Regions from separate parts of the Homo sapiens genome. Here regions 1 and 3 are each linked to region 2. The links are contacts of gene promoters, found by promoter capture Hi-C in blood cells and fetal thymus (Javierre and others, 2016). All regions are on one chromosome and are shown on one strand. Each heading gives the region's core, a stretch centred on a gene start or on the middle of the fragment in contact. The rest is flanking DNA. Distances are from core to core; before and after follow the strand shown. Region 1 overlaps VPS45 (vacuolar protein sorting 45 homolog). Region 2 holds the start of MTMR11 (myotubularin related protein 11). Region 3 overlaps VPS45 (vacuolar protein sorting 45 homolog).

Region 1 (3,300 bases), core at 600-3,099, 160 kb after region 2:
TGGCGATATAGAAGTGACAGGAAAGACAAGGTACCCGCCCTCAAAGAACTTACATAGAGACAATGAGTAAACAAGTAAACAAATGAAGAATATAATTTTAATAAGTGCTATCCAGGAAATAAATAGGGTGATGAGCTTCAAAGTAATTGTAGGGGTGGGGAGGACTACTTTAGATGGAGAGAGAACCTCTCTGAGAGGTGATATTTAAGATGAGCTTTGAGTCATAAGAAAGAACCAGACCAGACACGGTGGCTCACGCCTGTAATCCCAACACTTTGGGCGGCCAAAGCGGGAGGATCACCTGAGGTCAGTAGTTTGAACCAGGCTGGCCAACATGGCAAAACCCTGTCTCTACTAAAACTACAAAAATTAGCCTGGCGTGGGTAGCAGGCGCCTGTAATCCCAGCTACTCAGGAGGCTGAGGTAGAAGAATCGCTTGAACCTGGGAGGCGGAGGTTGCAGTGAGCTGAAATTTGCACCGTTGCACTCGAGCCTGGGCAACAGAGTGAGACCCCATCTCAAAAAAAAAAAAGCAATCACACTATGATTAGGAGAGAAAGCATCCAAAGCAGAGGGAAACACCAGAGCAAAGGTCTTGAAGAAAGAGAGAATTTGGCAAGTTAATGGAACAGAAGGGAGCCCTGCTTGGCTGGAGCATAGTGAATAAGGAGGAAATAAGAGGTTGAAAGATAGGTAGGGTTGGATCACATCGGTTCTCGAAGACCCTAGTAAAGAGATTTTTTTTTAATGTCATAGGAAGCCATTGAAGAGTTAAGCATATGAGTAACATGAACTTAATTGTGTTTTAAAAGATATTTGTGGTAAGAATGGATTATTGAAGGCAAAAATAGAAGCAGAGAGACTACTGAGGAGATGAATGCAGTAGTCCAGGTGAGAAATGGAAGTGGTTTGGGTAGGAGGCTGAGAGAGAAGCCAGAATCAATAGTCATATTTAATGGCACAGATTTATGGAACAAGGGTAAGAGAGAAGTCAAGAATAACTCTCAGGCTTTGAGGAGAAACAGAGTTTTGTTGTTCAGTTGGAGATGTCTATTAGATAACAAGTAGAAATGTCACATATTGAGAGTTGACAAAAACATTAGTAATATTAAAACCTCTGGAAATGTTGAACTGCTCCAGATTAAACATGGAAAAGGCAACTAGTTGGGGAAATGGAAACAAGAGGAGAGTGTATTGGATCATGACAAAGGTATTGGTGAATGAATTGGAGATTTGATGAGGCCAAAGAATTATTACAGAAGAGTATTAGTACAGGTAAATTGGAAGTTGAGAGGTAGTTATTGGATAAAGATATTTTGAATTCAAGATTTCATAGGGGGTTCAGATACTTGTAACGAAGAAGTTTAGATTGTAAGCATGGATGTGGGTGGTTGTAGTGGGTAAAAGAAAAGATCAGGATTGGTAAGGAGACCAGGATGTTAGATGAGTAATCCACAGTGATGTTAAAGTCACTGACAATCTTGAAAAGAGAAGGAGAAAAAGGAGGACAAATAAGCCAGAGCTAAAGTCTTCATGGAATAAAAGTGACCAGGAAAGGAGGTCAGGAGAAAACGGTGCAGCTACATTATGAGCTTCTAAGATAGTGGAAATTTTGAAGGAAGAAGGCAAAGAAATGGTTACAAAACTACAGTGGGTGTCACAGAACATACCTATACCACCTCCTGGCCATGCCTAACAGAAGGAATACTGCAAAGGACTTGAAAATACTCTTATTTACCAATTCTACTTCTAAAAGCTTACTGTATAGATATTCCTGTGCAAGTACACAAAGATACTTAAGCCAGGATGTTCACTGAAGTAATAGCAAAAAAACTAGGAACAAGCTAAATATCTATTAATAGAGGGCTGGTTACCTAAACTACAGTACAATATTACGTATTCTTTTTTTTTTAAATGACATAACTCCTCACGGGTGATATGCAAAGCTTTTTAAGATATATTAGATAGAAAAGCAGGATGTTGTAACATTTCTTTCTTTTTTTTTTTTTTTGAGACAGAGTCTTGCTCTGTCACCCAGGCTGGAGTGCAGTGGTGCCATCTCGGCTCACTGCAATCCCCGCCTCCTGGGTTCAAGATTCTCCTGCCTCAGCCTCCTGAGTAGCTGGGATTACAGGTGCATGCCACCATGCCTGGCTAATTTTTGTATTTTTAGTAGAGATGGGGTCTCACCATGTTGGTCAGGCTGGTCTCGAACTCCTGACCTCGTGATCCGCCCGCCTCACCTCGTGATCCGCCCGCCTCGGCCTCCCAAAGTGCTGGGATTGCAGGCATGAGCCACTGTGCCCAGCCATAACATTTCTTTCAGGTAAAAAAACTGTATAATCCTGGGTGCAGTGGTTTATGCCTATAATCCCAGCACTTTGGGAGGCCGAGCGGGCAGATTCTTTGAGGTCAGGAGTTTGAGACCAGCCTGGCCAACATGGTGAAACCCTGTCTCTACTAAAAATGCAAAAATTAGCCAGGCGTGGTGGCATGCACCTGTAGTCCCAGCTACTCAGGAGGCTGAGTCAGGAGAATCGCTTGAACCAGGGAGGTGGAGGTTGCAGTGAGCCGAGATTATGCCATTACACACCAGCCTGGGTGATAGAGCAAGGCTCCGTCTCAAAACAAAACAAAACAAAACAAAAAAAGTGTACATGTATATAAATATGTGCTTGACTATACATATGTATGTATATTATATATATAATATATTTTCACAAGCACATATATGTATAAATACAGTAACTCTTTTTGTTTGTTTGTTTGTTTTTTTGAGACAGGGTCTGGCTCTGTAGCCCAGACTGGAGAGTGGTGGCGTGATTTCAGCTCACTGCAGCCTCCACCTTTTGGGCTTAAGCCATCCCACCTCATTCTCCTAAGTAGCTGGGGCTACAGGCACATGCCACAGTACCTAGCTAATTTTTGCATTTTTATAGAGACAAGGTTTTGCTATGTTGCCTAGGCTTGTCTCAAACTCCTGAGCTCAAGCAATCTGCCTGCCTCAGCCTCCCAAAGTGCTTGGATTACTGGCATGAGCCACCATGCCCTGCCTACAGTAATTATTTCTGAAAGAATAATCAAGAAGTTGTTAATAGTCGTTACCTCTGGATATTGAGACAGTAGTTAGTTACATATCTATCCTTCCTATTAGTTATTGTATTAGGTATTGTAATCTTGAAGTAAGTATTATGTTTTGTTAATCTTTGGGGTTTTCACAATGTTTAACACAGTGATTTACAAATAATAGGTGTTCAATAGATGTTTGGTAAATTCTATAGGCATCTCTTCTAGTTGATA
Region 2 (3,777 bases), core at 812-3,311:
CTTTACTCTCATCACGCAATCATTTATCCCAGCCTTTTAGCCTTTCCTTGAGAGAAGCAGGGGGAATGATGAGAGGATCCCAGGGGCTGGAGGAGTCTCAGAAATTGTCAGGGAGAGGATCCCAAGGTTCTGAGGTGAGGAGAAAGCCTCAGGTTAGGGGCCTCTTACCTGAAAAGCCTGAGGCTCTAGGCCTCCAGCCTCAAAACCAACTCTGAGCAGCCGGAAGTCTCGGCCATGAATCAGAATCTCCTCAGGGATAAATTTATGCAGGGACCCTGGACGGAGGAGCTGGACTCGGGACAAGCCGCTCACTGAAGTCAAGAGGTACAGAACAGTGTAACCATGGACCAGAGTCTCTCCAGAAGGGACTCTTGCAGCCCATCCCACTCCATCCCTGCTGTTTTCTGAGAACAGAGGAAGGATGAGGAGGGAGTTCCAACAACCCCAGTGAACCCCTTCACCAAACCCCCCCCCAACTTACCAGCCTCTAATCGTCCAATGTTGACCAGGGCAAAATCGTATTCACTGTTCAAGGGAGTGTCCTAGACGAAACACGTGACTGGGTAGACATCTGAAATCGCCCTCATTTTCCTACCCTGGCAGCCCCAACCCCTTCTAGGGGGCAACAACCCTAGAGAGAGTTCCCACTGATTATCAATGATACATTCAAAAGACAGCCCTTAACCCATAATGTTTGTCTAAATCCTGCTAGACTCCCCTACCCATTTCCCACTAGCTGTCATTTCTGTGGCCCCAACCATCTCACCTGATTCCACTGCCATCCACAGGGCTGGAAGGTGACCCTAAAGTTGGTACAGATCAGGGTTCCAGACAATTCTGGTTCCAGGCCCTTCCTCACCCCTGGGGCCCATGCTAGGATCTGCTCCCCTAAAGGGGAAGAAGGGAAGCCCTGTTATGACTGTTCCCAGTGTTGCCCACACTTGGATACACCCACCCCTCCAAGAAAGGGAGATCTAAATAGGGAAGATTAAAATCCTCCCCAAAGCCCACTACAATGTAAGCTTATGAGGAAAGATAAATGTTTTTTAATTTCTGTAACTAGAACAGAGCCTAGAACAAGGCCTGGCACATAGCAGGCACTAACTATGTATCGAATAAGTAAATTTGAAAAGGGGTAACAGGGTCAAGGAAACAGAAGGAATGTCAAGGTCCAGCTCTCAGCCAGCTCTAGAGGCTGTCAGGGAGGACAGCGAGCCTCAGGCAGACGTACTTCGAGCCACGAGAGGAACACAGGGGTATCTTTGGTGAGGGCATGAAACAAGATTGGCGTAGGATGAAATTTGGAAGTCTTTGGAGAGTGATAGGGCATTATTACCTGGGAGGCATCTGGAGGCCAGGCAACTGCTAGGCTGACGACTCCTGGGCTCCGGCATCCTATTTTCCTGGACAGACTTTGGTCCAGAGGGTTGAGGGGGGTCTAGAGTTAACCCCTAGGCTCCCCAACTCCCCAGAGGCAGCTGCCTGTAGAGGCCTACACTCACACTCTCGGGGGAAACTGAGATCAGTGTCTGTGGGGAGCTCCAGACCTAACAGGGCTGGTAAACAGTAAAGGGAGGGGCTGGTTAATGGATAATGAGACAACGAACTTGAGACTGAGAAAGACGGACCAGGCTCCATCAGCAGAAGCTGATAGACAGACACACCCTCCTCCTCCTCCTCTAGAGCCTTTGCTTCCCCCTTTTATCTCCACCTCATCCCCGTTCTCACCCTCTTGCCGACACCCCCCAAATTCCTTCTCCTTACCCCCATCTCTGGCTCCTCCTTCTGGGGGGCAATGTTGAAACTCTGGCCCCGGCCCCCCCACCACATTTCTCTGGCTCCATCCGGGGACACAGCAGTTAAGGGTGGGAAACCTCAAGGATGCTCACCCACCTCGGGGAGAGGCTGAGTCTTGTTGAGAAGAGGGGTGTTAGGGAGAGGGGTAGGGGGTTGGACACAAGGGAAAGGAGCATTTGACGTGCACGGAGCAGAGTTTGGGGGTCCTTGGAAAGGTGTGTCCAGCCCAGCCTGAGAAGTCTCCTCGGAAACTTCAGTCGACTCTGGAGAGGGCGGGAGAGATGCCCAACCCCTTAAAGGAGAATACACACAATTCTGGAAAAGTGGAGAGGAAACGGTGGAGTCTGAGACGGACGGGTGGGGAAGAAATGGGGACTGAGAGAAAAACGACTCCCTTCTTTACCCCAATCCCAGACCCTGTTCTCTTCCTGTTCATGAGTACTGGAGACCGTTTGAGGGGAGCAGTTCTATTGATTATGAAGCTGGAATCATCTGGGCTACCTGTCTGGAGTGTCTCAGTGATGACTTCCCTTAAAAGCTCCGTTCTTTTGTCTTCTCAAAGGGGTTTGGGGCGGGGAGAGGGGTAGGAATGTGAAAGTGGTTCAAGCCTCCTTGCCGCCTCTTCCAGAAGAAAATGAAAATTAGACCTGGGGGGATTTTTGTCAGCAGAGGCCCAAGAATTAGGTGAGGAAGCAGGGAAACTGGTTAAAGTGGTTTTGCATATCTTTCTCTAGAGGGCATGACACAGACATCATGTGAAGACTGCAGTGGAGAAGTATAAAAAGAGATGGAAATGTGTCCAAGATGCAGACACAAGTACAGTTTGTGTGCAAGTCTTGGGGATGTGGGTGGGACAAAAAGATCTTACCAGTTAATCTTGCCCATCACGTAGATACACAACCAATAGGCAATAAGTGCCCATTCCCGTATGTGACTCCACCCCTCCAACCCAGACACCAGATCTCCAAATGAATGATTCATGTTCAGGACTTTCACAGGTGAGGGCTGGAAACCTCTCTTCAGCTCAGCAGTCCATCCCCCGTCCCTCCCATCTGCAACCCTAGAAGCAAAGATGGGTAAGGAAAGCTGGGAACAAGGAGAGAAGGAGCTGCAGCTCCTTTAAAGGAGGGGGACTTGGGGACAGCAAAGCAAAAATCTTTATTTAGACATGAAAAAGACAGAAAATAAAATACAAAATAAGAGTTAATGAGCTGCTGTTTTATTGCTTTTGAATCTACAGAGGCAGCAATCCTTAGATGGGGGCCCCAGTTTTCCAAAGTGACACTCAATTTTCCCCTCCCCCCAGTACACCACCCTTCTGGCCTCAGCTTTCAGTTTCCTGTCTTGGCTGCAACTGTGGAAATAGTGAAGATATTGTGAGACAGAAAGTCAGTCTGGAACAAAGAGGTATACACCTGCTAAGAAGGTGGCCCAGAAGCCTGATTCTAGAAGTCCTAAAGGCTACAGAGCACCACCACCCCACCTGCCCCTAATGCATTCCATGGGCCTCAACCTCTTGGGGGAAGAAAATATTTCCCAAGGTCTGTTGTAAAAAGAAAATAGGGACCAGGCGCAGTGGCTCACGCCTGTAATCCCAAGCATTTTGGAAGGCCAAGGCAGGCAGATTACTTGAGGTCAGGAGTTCAGGACCACCTGGCCAACATGATGAAGCCCCATCTCTACTGAAAATACAAAAATTAGCCAGGCGTGGTGGCTCACACCTATAATCCCAGCTACTTGGGAGGCTGAGGCAGGAGAATCGCTTGAACCCAGGAAGCAGAGGTTGCAGTGAGCCAAGATCTAATGACTACGCTCCAGCCTGGGCAACAGAGCAAGACTCCATCGCAAAAAAAAAAAAAAAAAAAAAGACATAGGAAGAGGTGTGTACCATAACTTTTAAATCCCATTATCCACTTTCCTTCTCACCACCATCCTTCATTCAAGAGCCTCATTCTATTCTTTAGCACTTTGAGGTGTGGA
Region 3 (3,481 bases), core at 970-3,469, 190 kb after region 2:
CACACCTGGCTAATTTTTTTTTTTTTTGTATTTTTAGTAGAGATGGGGTTTCACCATGTTGGCCAGGCTGGTTTTGAACTCCTGACCTCAAGTAATCCGCCTGCCTTGTCCTCCCAAAGTGCTGGGATTATAGGCATAAGCCACTGTGCCCAGCCCCTTCTAATATTTTTTTAACCTAAATGTTTTAGAATTTTGTTTATGTTTTGTTTTTAACATAAGATCTATAGAGTTTTTTTCTTTAATCATTTGAGAACATTTTCCCATGTTACTAAAAAGTCTTTAAAACAATCTTAATGGCTATATAATTTTATTTTTAAGGATGGGTCTTTATTTAACTATTACCATTGGACATTTAGGTTGTTTACATTTTTTTCACCAGCATATTCAGCTGCAAGTTTACTTTTATTTTTTATTTATTTATTTTTTTGCTTTTTTAAATTTTTAATTGACATGTAATAATTTTACACATTTATTAGGTACAGAGTAATATTTTGATACATGTATACAATGTATACTGATCAAATCAGGATATTTAGCATAACAGCACATCAAACATTTATCATTTCTTTGTATTGGGAACATTCAAAATCTTCTTTTTTCTGTATTGGATATGTATTTTTTATTTTTTTTACTTTTTTTATTTATTTTTTAATATATATATATTTTTATTATACTTTAAGTTCTAGGGTACATGTGCACAATGTGCAGGTTTGTTACATATGTATACATGTGCCATGTTGGTGTGCTGCACCCATTAACTCATCATTTAAAAAATGACGAGTTCATGTCCTTTGTAGGGACATGGATGAAACTGGAAACCATCATTCTGAGCAAACTATCGCAAGGACAAAAAACCAAACACCACATGTTCTCACTCATAGGTGGGAATTGAACAATGAGAACACTTGGACACAGGAAGGGGAACATCACACACTGGGGGGAGGGGGGAGGGATAGCATTAGGAGATATATTTTTTATTTTTTTTATATTTTTTAATCATTTTTGAGATGGAGTCTCCTCTGTTGCCCAGGCTAGAGTGCAGTGATGTGATCTCAGCTCACTGTAACCTCCACCACCCAGGTTCAAGGAATTCTCTGCCTCAGCCTCCCGAGTAGCTGGGATTATAGGCGCCTGCCACCACTCCCAGCTAATTTTTGTATTTTTAGTAGAGACGGGCTTTCACCATCTTGGCCAGACTGGTCTTGAACTCCTGACCTTGTGATCCACCCGTCTCAGACTCCCAAAGTGGTGGGATTATAGATATGAGCCACTGCCCCTGGCCAAGCTTACATTTTTAATATAAATAATGCTTCAATAAACATCTTACGTACTGATAAAACTTGGTCCCCATCTCGGTGGGGACAAAGGTTTAAGATAAACGTATAGTGAGGCAGTCTGAAATATTGCCAGTAGAAGGATAAATTAGTATAACTTTCCTAGAAAGCAATTTAGCATTATATATTCTAAGGTATGGGATTAATTTCATGGCTTTTGTTGTTGGGTTTTTGTTTTGTTTTGTTTTTTTGAGACAGAGCCTCACTCTGTCGCCCATGCTGGAGTGCAGTGGTGCCATCTCGGCTCACTGCAAGCTCCGCCTCCCAGGTTCACGCCATTGTCCTGCCTCAGCCTCCCAAGTAGCTGGGACTACAGGCATCTGCCACCATGCCTGGCTAATTTTTTTTTGTATTTTTAGTAGAAATGGGGTTTCACCATGTTAGCCAGGATGGTCTCAATCTCCTGACCTCGTGATCCGCCCTCCTCGGCCTCCCAAAGTGCTGGGATTACAGGCGTGAGCCACCACACCGGCCTGTTTTTTGATTTTTAAGAAGCTCTTGCTCAAGTGATGGAAATGTTCTATATCTTGATTGAGGAGTTGGTTATACAACTGGATATATTTGGCAAACTCATCAAAGAATATCCTTGATATCAGTGAATTTTATTGTCTATGAGTTATAGCTCAATAAAAAAAATTTATATGTAGCTGAGCAGAGGTGGCCCATGCCTGTAATCCCAGCACTTTGGGAGGCTCAATTGGGAGGATCATTTGAGGCCAGGGGTTCAAGAACAGCCTGGGCAACATAGTGAGACTCCATCTCCACAAAAAACGTTAAAATTAGCCAGGCATCATGGTACGCACCTGTAATCATAGCTACAGGTAAGACAAAGCACTGTAGTACCAAACTGACATTTTCTCCTTCAAATGTTCAGAAAGATAAAAAAGATAATTTAAAATGGAATAGTTTCTCACTGCATAATTCAATGTTATTTAATGCCATGCCCCAGAACCACCTGATGTCAACTGATGTTATGACTCACACACTTTGAGGAAAACTGGGCTATTACAATTCCTAAAGCAACGGGTATGATGATAATTTGGTAAAACACTTAACCAAATTTTAAAGACAGTACAACAAAATGTAAAATATCTCAGTACTTTTTTAAGTTGATTACATGCTGAAAGATAATATTTTGGATATATGGGTTAAATAAAATACACTACTAAAATTAATTTTACCTGTTTCATTTTACTTTTTTAATGTGGCCACGAGAACATTTGTGACTTGCACTGCTTTATCCATTTAATTTTGTTAATTCTCATAATGACTCAGTGAAGCAGATTTTTTTTTTTTTGAAACAGGGTCTCGCTCTGTTGCCCAGGCTGGAGTGCAGTGGCACACACACAGCTCACTGTGACATTGATCTGGGTTCAAGCAGTCCTACCACTTCAGCCTCACAAGTAGCTTGTGCTAACTTTTTATTTTTTTCTAGAGACAGGGTCTTGCTATGTTGTCCAGACTGGTCTCAAACTCCTGGGCTCAAACAAACCTCCCAACTTGGCCTCCCAAATTGCTGGGATTACTGGCATGAGCCACCACACCCAGCCAAGGTAGATATTTTTATAATTGTTATCAACTTCCTTTTTCAGATGAGGAAATCAAAGTAGAGAGAAGTTAAGTACCTTGTCCAAAGTCATAAAGCTAGTAAGTGGTAAACCTGGAATTGGGCACAGTCTGTTTCCAGTATGAGTACCTAAGCACTCAGTTGAAATAATATTTTGGAATATTTATCTAGCTATGATATTTTTAAATCCTTTGTTTATAAATGTCACCTATAAGATAGGCAAAATATGTTTTTATCAAATGGATAATATGTGAAGCTTTCAGACTACTAAGAAATATTGTAAACCAAAGCTGGGGAAAAAATAATACAGAACTGAGGGATCATTTACTTTTATTTTAAGAATTTTATCATTCAATGATGATTAAAAATGAGATTTAAGAGACAGTGTTGCTCTTTGAGTAAAAATGACTAACTTGGCCAGGCATGGTGACTCACACCTGTAATCCCACACTTTGGGAGGCCGGGGCGGGCAGATTGCTTGAGTTCAGGAGTTCAAGACCAGCCTGGGCAACATGGTGAGACCCTGTCTCTACCAAAAATACAAAAAAATAGCTGGGCGTGATGGTGCGTGCCTGTGGTC

The links. Contacts are between HindIII fragments. The CHiCAGO score rates a contact against its expected background, and 5 or more counts as called.
Region 1: a contact is called between a fragment that was not itself captured here and the fragment with the promoter of MTMR11 in region 2, in 2 of 17 cell types (erythroblasts and monocytes). The highest score is 8.7, in erythroblasts.
Region 3: a contact is called between a fragment that was not itself captured here and the fragment with the promoter of MTMR11 in region 2, in 10 of 17 cell types (total B cells, fetal thymus, naive B cells and 7 more). The highest score is 7.5, in total B cells.

What each region holds. Positions count from the first base shown.
Region 1 is chr1:150,095,095-150,098,394 of GRCh38, forward strand. The region is part of intron 13 of VPS45 (vacuolar protein sorting 45 homolog); the gene reads left to right. Among named protein-coding and RNA genes, the nearest start is that of VPS45, 29 kb to the left of the region's middle. The HindIII fragment of the contact is 190 bases long and covers 1,755-1,944 here.
Region 2 is chr1:149,934,818-149,938,594 of GRCh38, forward strand. MTMR11 (myotubularin related protein 11) reads right to left here and starts at 2,062. Exons shown (of 17, transcript NM_001145862.2): 1 at 1,765-2,062; 2 at 1,337-1,412; 3 at 767-888; 4 at 482-542; 5 at 169-311. The coding sequence starts at 1,830. OTUD7B (OTU deubiquitinase 7B) reads right to left here. Exons shown (of 12, transcript NM_020205.4): 12 at 2,995-3,777. RefSeq lists an enhancer at 1,328-1,852. The HindIII fragment of the contact is 11,640 bases long and covers 1,021-3,777 here.
Region 3 is chr1:150,124,704-150,128,184 of GRCh38, forward strand. All of the region lies in intron 14 of VPS45 (vacuolar protein sorting 45 homolog), which reads left to right. Among named protein-coding and RNA genes, the nearest start is that of PLEKHO1, 23 kb to the right of the region's middle. The HindIII fragment of the contact is 1,872 bases long and covers 1,284-3,155 here.